Regions from separate parts of the Homo sapiens genome. Here region 1 is linked to region 2. Evidence: promoter capture Hi-C in 16 types of primary human blood cells and fetal thymus (Javierre and others, 2016). All regions are on one chromosome and are shown on one strand. The core of a region is centred on a gene start or on the middle of the fragment in contact, and the rest is flanking DNA. Distances in the headings are between cores, read along the strand shown. Region 1 overlaps HAO1 (hydroxyacid oxidase 1). Region 2 holds the start of BMP2 (bone morphogenetic protein 2).

Region 1 (4,586 bases), core at 1,573-4,072, 1.1 Mb after region 2:
TATAAAATGAAATGAACACACCCATTAAAATTAATATTATTGCTGGGCACAGTGGCTCACGCCTGTAATCCCAGCACTTTGGGAGGCTGAGGCGGGTGGATCACCTGAGGTCAGGAGTTCGAGACCAGCCTGACCAACGTGGTGAAACCCCATCTCTACTAAAAAAACACAAAATTAACCGGGCGTGGTCATGGGCGCCTGTAGTCCCAGCTACTCAGGAGGCTGAGGCAGGAGAATCGCTTGAACCTAGGAGGAAGAGGTTGAAGTGAGCTGAGATTGCAGCATTGCGCTCTAGCCTGGGTGACAAGAGTGAAACTACATCTCAAAAAAAAATAATATTATTATGATAATCAATTTTCTGCATCAATATGCTAAACCATGGTGCCCAGATATTTGGTGAAACATGTCTGAATGCTGCTATGAAGGTGTTTTTTAGATGAGATTAACATTTTAATTAGTAGACTACAGGTAAAGCAGATTATCCCTCATAATGTGAGTGGGTCTTATCTAATCAGCTCAAGGCCTTAAAAATAAGTCTGTGAAGGAGAATAAGAAGAAGGGGAAGGAGAAGAAGAAGGGAAAGGGGAAGGAGAAGGGGAAGAGGAAGGGGAAGTAAGACTGCTAAGAAAAAGAAGAATTCTGCAAGGAGCCTGCCTTCAGACTGGAACTGCAACATCAACATTTCCCTGGTAGCTTGCCCACCTACTCTGCACATTTGAACTTGCAAGCTTCCACAAACACATGAGCCAATTCCTAAAAATGTCTATCTATGGATAGGTGTTTTAGAGATAAAGATAGAGATAGAGAGATAGACTTATGTATGTATCTATCTGTATCTATCGAGAGAGAAAAAGATGAGAAATCTCCAAGGGGGAGATCCTATTAATTCTGTTTCTCTGGAGAACTCTGGGTATTACAATTTTAAAATAATATAGACATAGAAAAATGTTTATGATATATAGATATATTAAGGAAAGAAAAAAGTTTACAAAATGACATGTATTACATGATATCAAATTTGTACAATTCTACTTATTGGTAGATGAATCTAAACAAACTACATGCTAATGATGGGTGGGAGAATTATGGGGTTAGTTTAATTTTTTTCTTCCTTTTTAATTTTAAAATTTTGTCTTTCAAAATTGTATTAAATATATAGTTTACCATTTATGTTGTCTTTTAAAATCTCATAAAATGTGTGTGCTAGATATCCCAAGTAGACACATCCTTTTGAGCAAGGTAGCAGTTACATTTTGGGGGGAAAGGTAGCAAGAAACGGGCAAATAAATGGAAAATTAAATAGAGTCATCTAACTAATAGTTTTAGAGGGTACTTGAGAGAACATGAGTGATAGGTAGGCTTTCTTCCAAAAATTGGTAGTAAAATTGGAGTAAAATTGGAGTCAGCCTTAGTGGAGGAGAAACTGATATAATGTTTATATGCAATATATAAAACAGTCAAATCTGTTATAAAGTATAAATATATTAGAAGTATAAATATATAAAAGTATATTATGTAAAACTCTATTCCTTCAAGTCATTTGACTCATCTGTGTGCCTACCATGCATCAAATGGGTATAAATATACTTGTCCAAATGACACTCACAGGATGTTGATAGGAATCCAGTGAGTTGCTGCTTATAAAGCTATAATGAGAGGTTAAAAAGCTTCCATGATTCTCAAACTTTAGCAGGACAATCCCCTGGAGGGCATGTGAATGAAACACAGATTTCTGGGTCCCACCCACAGAGCTTCTGGTCCAGTAAGTCTGAGATGTGGCCCAAGAGTTTGCATTTCTAACCAGATTAGGCTGATGCTAGATCACACTTTGACATTTAAATAGTACCATAGCCATTAGATAGTAAAGGTCTAAGTTCAAATGAAATAAAATGTATTTTGTTTTTGATAAATGTTAATTTTTCAATGCCTTTGAAGATGTTTTTCATACATGTTCTCCCGGTCAGTGGTTAGCTACAGAAGATCTGAGTTGGAGGTCATCATGTCTATAGATCACTAGTCTGTTCTCCCAAAGAGTTCCTTCTATAGGAATTCATGACTGGCAAAATATTGTCTAAAACCCACATTTTATTAAGTAAGAACACAAATGAACATATAGACCATTGTCTGATTTTCATTAAGATTTGGAAATGTGGAAAATAAATTCAGGTCACTTACTGCTGTTTGAAAGGAACACCAAGGGACATTGATTGCTTGGATCAAAATCCTCCAACAATCAATTCACCTGAAATAAATTATGTCCTGGCCAGGGTTGGTGGCTCTCATCTGTAATCCCAGCACTTTGGGAGGCCAAGGTAGGCAGATCCCTTGAGGTCAGGAGTTCAAGACCAGCCTGATCAACATGATAAAACCCTATCTCTACTGAAAATACAAATATTAGCTGGGCGTAGTGGCGCATGCCTGTAATCCCAGCTACTCAGGCGACTGAAGCACTAGGATTGCTTGAACCCAGGAGGCGGAGATTGCAGTGAGCTGAGATCACACCACTGTACTCCAGCCTGGATGACAGAATGAGACTCCCTGTCAAAAAAAAAAAAAAAAAAAAAGTCCTGAAGAGGATGTTACCTAAGGTCACACAGAAATGAGCAACAAAGTAGGAGAACTCAGCATGGCTGAGCACTCTCCCAGGGCAATGATCTTTCTAGACTCCCTACATGTCTAAATGACTCCCTGGTACCATGCCTAGATAAATGTACTCCCTCAATATTTCAGGGCAGTGACATCCAAGAGAGTAGGTTTGCCATGTGCATGAGAGACACTGCCATGCATTGGGAAGGCATGGAATCTTAGAATCCAGTGGGAAGGTCCTCCGTACACTGGAGGTGCAGAGTGTGGATGCACAAAGGGGTCTGGCAGAGAAAATCACTCAGATGATAGGGCATGTTTTTGTAGTTAATACAAAGACATCATGTAGTCAAGCAGCAGCTCTGCCAATAGGAACATCAAAATCCACAAAAGGATTCCCTTGAACTCATGAGAAATATCTACAGACACTCCACACAGATTACCAAAATGCTGCAAAACACACATAATTTCTACTTCTCTTAAACCATCTGACTTGCAGGAAATGTAAGCCCTTCACAAACATTTTACCCAAATCACTTGGGTATGCATATTTAGAGAGAAGCAAGTTTGGTCCATACCATCTATTTCTTGATTCTACCTTGATACAAGTAACTGCTGGAGTTATTGCTGCTCAGTGATTATTTTCCAATAAGTAAATCATACATGGCTGAAATTTTGAATTGGCATCCCCAAAATTATTCCAAGAGAATGCTCCTGCATGTAGGAGGAATATCAGAGTCTGTGCTAAGGTATTATCATTTGAAGCTAAAATACTAGTCCTAGGAGAAAACAGGAGCAAAACAGCAGGCTCCCTTCTCCCCAGAACAAATATGAGTGATCACTCTGATCTCAATCCACTTGTGACTATTTGCTATGACAAAGGAAAATTATTGATGAATTACATTCATTATTTTTAATACAGTTTTATGTTAGAATGAGCTAAGGGAGCCTGGGAATTTATATGAACCATTCAGAGAGGCAATAAAGAATTTGCCTATTTCTTAAGGACAGATCTGAGATGAAGTTGGTACATACCAGAATGGCAATTATGTTTGTTAAAATATTAAAATACTTACACTCCAATTGGTAAATAGCCACGGCTCTGAAGTTTATCACCCCAGCCCCCGAGTCTCTTCAATATGTCGTTGTGCTTCAATATGTCATCACTTCCTTTTCTCCCCAAGGAATCCCCAGACTTCCTCATAATCCAGCAACTTAAACATCAGTGCCGGCAGAGCGGGGGGCATCCACCCTGTTAGAGCGCTAGAGACCAGCAGCTGAGTATCTCTTCCAATTGCTCAAAGTCCTTTGCTAAATAATTCAAATATTACCTTTGCCTGAGAGACAATGATAAACCCTTTGAGTTCACACTGCTCATTTTGGGGTAATACTTACAAGCTTCAAAATTTTATAAATGGCGTAGCATGGTCAGACTTCATCAAAAAGTTCTGACTATCGTTATCCTAGCCTATGGCTTGAAAGCACAAATGTTTTAAGCCCTTTTACTCACCTTATCCATTGTCCACAATGAAATTCTGACTCCCTGCTCCCAAAGCAGACACTGTCTCATTGCATTTTGCAAAGGACAGGGGTTGGATTTCATTCTTGCTCCCAATGTGTGGCTATGTATTAGACTGTAACGGAAGATTCCAATGATATGTGTTGCAGTTTTAAGATGCCTGGCAAAATGGAGCTCACAGCTGAGGTCATATTAACATAAAGGCAAAACCTGGCTCTTGCCTAGAATGAAGTTCCCTAATGTTGATCCAAATCTAAAAATCTTGGCTTTTGTAATAGACGGTATATCCTAAAGATGAAATACCTAGGAGCCTACACCATCAAGTAACACTGATCTTGTATGAAATCCCAGGACTCTCTTCTCTTACTCACTGACTCTTTCATTGTCCTTAAGACATATCTTCAAAGATAGACACCTACACTTTTAATGTTACAGATATATTCAGACTTTATTCGTATGTTTGGCATTTCTTTCTCTTCTTTAA
Region 2 (4,974 bases), core at 1,576-4,075:
GTGAACTTTACAATACATGGGGATCACTATTTTAATGTTGATTTGCATAATGTTTGGCCTAGCAAGAACAATACTGAATGCTAATAGCTACAGAATGCAATAAAATGGAATATCATGTGAGCTGAAGTGCTAAAATTGCTAAAGTATGACTGTAAGCAGTTAATTTCATCCCGAGTCTTGTCCACACACAATCAAATGCAAATTTCCACTATCTCCTGAGAAACTGCCAAGAGATGACTGAAATGGAATAGCAACAACCTCCTTTATGTGGAATCATTATCTGGTCATCTTTGCTTTTTTACATAACTTGTCTGTACCCTCTGATGCATTTGAATTTGCAACTTCTACTATCCCTATCTTAAACAACTCCCCACTCCCACCTCTGCCCCTTCCACATTTGCTGGCAGATGCACTAAGTCTGATAAACTCAGCAAGACTGAATCTCACCCTCTGAACTGAAAAACTTTGAATGGACCTTTGAAAACGGTAGAATTGACAATGGTTAGCTGCAAGTGATATTTTCAAGGCAAACAGACACTCTCCCAAAGTATTAAATAACCCAGCATTCTAAGTTGCAGGTGGAAGGTAGCCATTAGTGAAGAGAGAGAAAAAAAAAAGAAATAGCTCGTCTGTATTTAGATTTATCATTTCTGACTATTGCTCTTCCCTGGAAAACGGGTAGGTACAGTCATCCTGTACTTCGATCCCAAATCAGTCTCTGGAGACTACTTATTTATTTATTTATTTATTTATGGACTTCTTTCTTTCAAGCGTTCGAACTCATTTCCACCACAAGAGGGCAGCCATCTCTAAAAAAAAAAAAATAGGGCCAAAATTTATGTAAGTTGTGCTTGGAACAAGCATTCAGTAGTTCCTCAGAAATCATACACCCTACATAAAAGAGATTCTGCAATGGGCAGCACTAACATGAAACAGTGTTCAGAAGTACCCATTTTCCCTCAGATTCTAAACTGACAAGGTTTCCACTTACCAGGTTATGAAGTTCTAAAGCTGCAAGACATCCTTGAGGTCATCACAGGATATTTATTTATTTTTTCTTCGGGTGCATCCAATAGTTATCAACTTTTCCTCCTCTTTAAAAGCTACTTAAATCTCATTGAAGTTTTGTTTTGTTTTGTTTTTGAAATCTAAGTAATGAGAGAAACAATTGTTAACTTCTCAATTAAACTTGATAGGAAAGGAAATAATTTCAGAAGCCCTGTGTCCATGAGTAGGATATGTTTTATTGCCTCCTTGTTTGCGGTGCAATGACTCTGAGTGACAATCAACTTCTATAGCACCTTTTTTTTTTTTTTCAGGAAATAAAGTAGCATGTTCCTGAATAATTCCCCCACCCCCTTTTATTTTCCTGGTAGTCAGGCTTCCTCCAAAATACCTTATTTGACCTTTATACCTTTAGAAACAGCAAGTGCCTAATTCGCCTCTGTGGGTTGCTAATCCGATTTACGTGAGCGGAACCTAGTATTATTTTAGCTCCCCTACCGAAAAAATAATACACATGGATAATAGTTCTATTACCAGCTCCTGCTTCTGACTTTTTTCTCTCTGTTTCGCAGGCCCGATAGCTCTGGGAAAGCAGAACTTGGCCTTTTCCAAAAATTTTCTGCCCTTGGTTTTGGGGATCATTTGGGCAAGCCCGAGGTGCTGTGCATGGGGGCTCCTGGAATCCTGGGAAGGGCAGAAAGCCTTGGCCCCAGACTCATCGTGCAGCAGCTCTGAGCAGTATTTCGGCTGAGGAGTGACTTCAGTGAATATTCAGCTGAGGAGTGACTTGGCCACGTGTCACAGCCCTACTTCTTGGGGGCCTGGTGGAAGAGGGTGGCGTAGAAGGTTCCAAGGTCCCAAACTGGAATTGTCCTGTATGCTTGGTTCACACAGTGCGTTATTTTACCTTCCTCTGAGCTGCTAATCGCCTGCCTCTGAGCTGGGTGAGATAAATATCACAAGGCACAAAGTGATTGTACAATAAAAAAATCAAATCCCTCCCATCCATCCTTCAGTCTGCCACACACGCAGTCTACGTTACACACATGTCACGTAAAGCAGGATGACATCCATGTCACATACATAGACATATTAACCGAAATGTGGCCCTTCGGTTGCATATATTCTCATACATGAATATATTTATAGAAATATATGCACATATTTTTGTATATTGGATATATTTATGTAACTATAAATTTACATGCGTATGGATATGAAAATAAATGCATACACATTTATGTAAAAAAATTTGTACACATGCATTTACATATGTAAATACATACATCTCTATGTATTAATGTTTAAAAACACTCAATTTCCAGCCTGCTGTTTTCTTTTAATTTTCCTCCTATTCCGGGGAAACAGAAGCGTGGATCCCACGTCTATGCTATGCCAAAATACGCTGTAATTGAGGTGTTTTGTTTTGTTTTGTTTTTTGAAATCGTATATTACCGAAAAACTTCAAACTGAAAGTTGAATAACGGGCCCAGCGGGGAAATAAGAGGCCAGACCCTGACCCTGCATTTGTCCTGGATTTCGCCTCCAGAGTCCCCGCGAGGGTCCGGCGCGCCAGCTGATCTCTCCTTTGAGAGCAGGGAGTGGAGGCGCGAGCGCCCCCCTTGGCGGCCGCGCGCCCCCGCCCTCCGCCCCACCCCGCCGCGGCTGCCCGGGCGCGCCGTCCACACCCCTGCGCGCAGCTCCCGCCCGCTCGGGGATCCCCGGCGAGCCGCGCCGCGAAGGGGGAGGTGTTCGGCCGCGGCCGGGAGGGAGCCGGCAGGCGGCGTCCCCTTTAAAAGCCGCGAGCGCCGCGCCACGGCGCCGCCGCCGCCGTCGCCGCCGCCGGAGTCCTCGCCCCGCCGCGCTGCGCCCGGCTCGCGCTGCGCTAGTCGCTCCGCTTCCCACACCCCGCCGGGGACTGGCAGCCGCCGCCGCACATCTGCCGCCACAGCCTCCGCCGGCTACCCGAACGTTCTCGGGGCCAGCGCCGAGTGGATCACCGGGGACCGCGAGGCACCCGCGCGCCGCAGACCCCGCGCGGGCTGGAGCACCCGGCAGAGCGCGCCACAGCGCCGTGGCCTCTGCTGCCCGGGCTGCGCCAGAGCCGCGGACGGGCGCGCAGAGCGCCGGGGACTCCGGAGCCGATCCCTAGCGCCGCGATGCGGAGCACCTACTGCAGGAGATCGGGGGCCTGGGACGCGCTGGCCGAGGTGTGATCGGACCCCAGGCTAGCCACAAAGGGCACTTGGCCCCAGGGCTAGGAGAGCGAGGGGAGAGCACAGCCACCCGCCTCGGCGGCCCGGGACTCGGCTCGACTCGCCGGAGAATGCGCCCGAGGACGACGGGGCGCCAGAGCCGCGGTGCTTTCAACTGGCGAGCGCGAATGGGGGTGCACTGGAGTAAGGCAGAGTGATGCGGGGGGGCAACTCGCCTGGCACCGAGATCGCCGCCGTGCCCTTCCCTGGACCCGGCGTCGCCCAGGATGGCTGCCCCGAGCCATGGGCCGCGGCGGAGCTAGCGCGGAGCGCCCGACCCTCGACCCCCGAGTCCCGGAGCCGGCCCCGCGCGGGGCCACGCGTCCCTCGGGCGCTGGTTCCTAAGGAGGACGACAGCACCAGCTTCTCCTTTCTCCCTTCCCTTCCCTGCCCCGCACTCCTCCCCCTGCTCGCTGTTGTTGTGTGTCAGCACTTGGCTGGGGACTTCTTGAACTTGCAGGGAGAATAACTTGCGCACCCCACTTTGCGCCGGTGCCTTTGCCCCAGCGGAGCCTGCTTCGCCATCTCCGAGCCCCACCGCCCCTCCACTCCTCGGCCTTGCCCGACACTGAGACGCTGTTCCCAGCGTGAAAAGAGAGACTGCGCGGCCGGCACCCGGGAGAAGGAGGAGGCAAAGAAAAGGAACGGACATTCGGTCCTTGCGCCAGGTCCTTTGACCAGAGTTTTTCCATGTGGACGCTCTTTCAATGGACGTGTCCCCGCGTGCTTCTTAGACGGACTGCGGTCTCCTAAAGGTAGAGGACGCGGGCCAGGGCCCGGGGTGGGTGGTGGGTGGGAGGGGGATTTGGGCAGCCACTGCGGTAGAGCCCTTCCTTACGTCCAGGCCAGAAGTAAACAGACCCCTCTCCAGTCCACGTGCAACGGAGCCCTGCAGGGGCTCCCACTTCCAGCTGCCCCGGGCGACCGTAAGCCTCACCCTCCCGGCCCGCACTCTTCCACCCCTCTTTCTTCCCCTCTCCCTGGAATACTTTTGGAGCTGTTAACACTTAGATGAGGTGTTTTATTTATTTATTTATTTATTTTTAATTTTTTTAAAAACTTTTTTGGGTCAAAGAAATCCCTTTGAGAGGGTAGCCCCTGGGTTTCACCCGTTAGCTGAGAACCTGTCCGCTCTGCCATGGTGATCTCCATTCTTCAAGTGTTTCCGGGAGACTTGGTTTCTTTGCTCAGAGCCGTGTCCCATTTAGGAAAGTACTAGGAGTTTGGGGTTCTCCCTACTTGTTTCCAGAAATGCGAGGGGTCAGTACTGAAGGATCACTTGGTACTGTGTTTTTAACAGCTGACACGTGCATTAATAGATATTCACCATTTACGTAATCCCGGGAAGATACATGTGTATCTTGACTGCACTGTGGGGATGCGGGATGGAGCTGCCTTTCGAGACACCCCTGAGGGTAGGGGCCTGGGACACAAGTCATAAGTGGCTTCAGAAGTTGTGGCCTTGAGCTTACAGGGTCTGGAAGCTATAAGGGTGTGTGTGTGTGTGTGTGTGTGTGTGTGTGTGTGTCAGGAAGTTCTATACAGTGCCTCTAAGGAAGTCACATGCACCATTTATGTGTGTTTATATGCCAGACAGCGCTCAGCACTCCGCATTTGGGTTTGTATAGGGGACGCAGGGTGTCAGATCAAGCGGTGGTTTTCCCAGGTTCCCGGCATTGGCTGTCAGCGCTGTGTCACACACAAAAAAGTGACA

The links. The method cuts DNA at HindIII sites, captures the fragments that hold promoters and counts their contacts. A CHiCAGO score of 5 or more calls a contact.
Region 1: a fragment that was not itself captured here is called in contact with the fragment with the promoter of BMP2 in region 2 in 1 of 17 cell types (endothelial precursors); the score reaches 5.0 in endothelial precursors.

Annotation. Positions count from the first base shown.
Region 1 is chr20:7,914,797-7,919,382 of GRCh38, forward strand. The region is part of intron 2 of HAO1 (hydroxyacid oxidase 1); the gene reads right to left. Among named protein-coding and RNA genes, the nearest start is that of HAO1, 23 kb to the right of the region's middle. The HindIII fragment of the contact is 2,314 bases long and covers 1,666-3,979 here.
Region 2 is chr20:6,764,861-6,769,834 of GRCh38, forward strand. It overlaps BMP2 (bone morphogenetic protein 2), which reads left to right and starts at 2,826. Exons shown (of 3, transcript NM_001200.4): 1 at 2,826-4,015. LOC105372517 (a long non-coding RNA gene) reads right to left here and starts at 2,624. Exons shown (of 4, transcript XR_937229.2): 1 at 2,461-2,624; 2 at 1,540-1,945; 3 at 992-1,148; 4 at 733-809. RefSeq lists promoters at 1-3,880, 2,690-3,331, 2,721-3,880, cis regulatory regions at 1,794-2,584, 2,591-2,690, 3,331-3,505 and silencers at 2,770-2,819, 2,910-2,959. The HindIII fragment of the contact is 17,330 bases long and covers 1-4,974 here.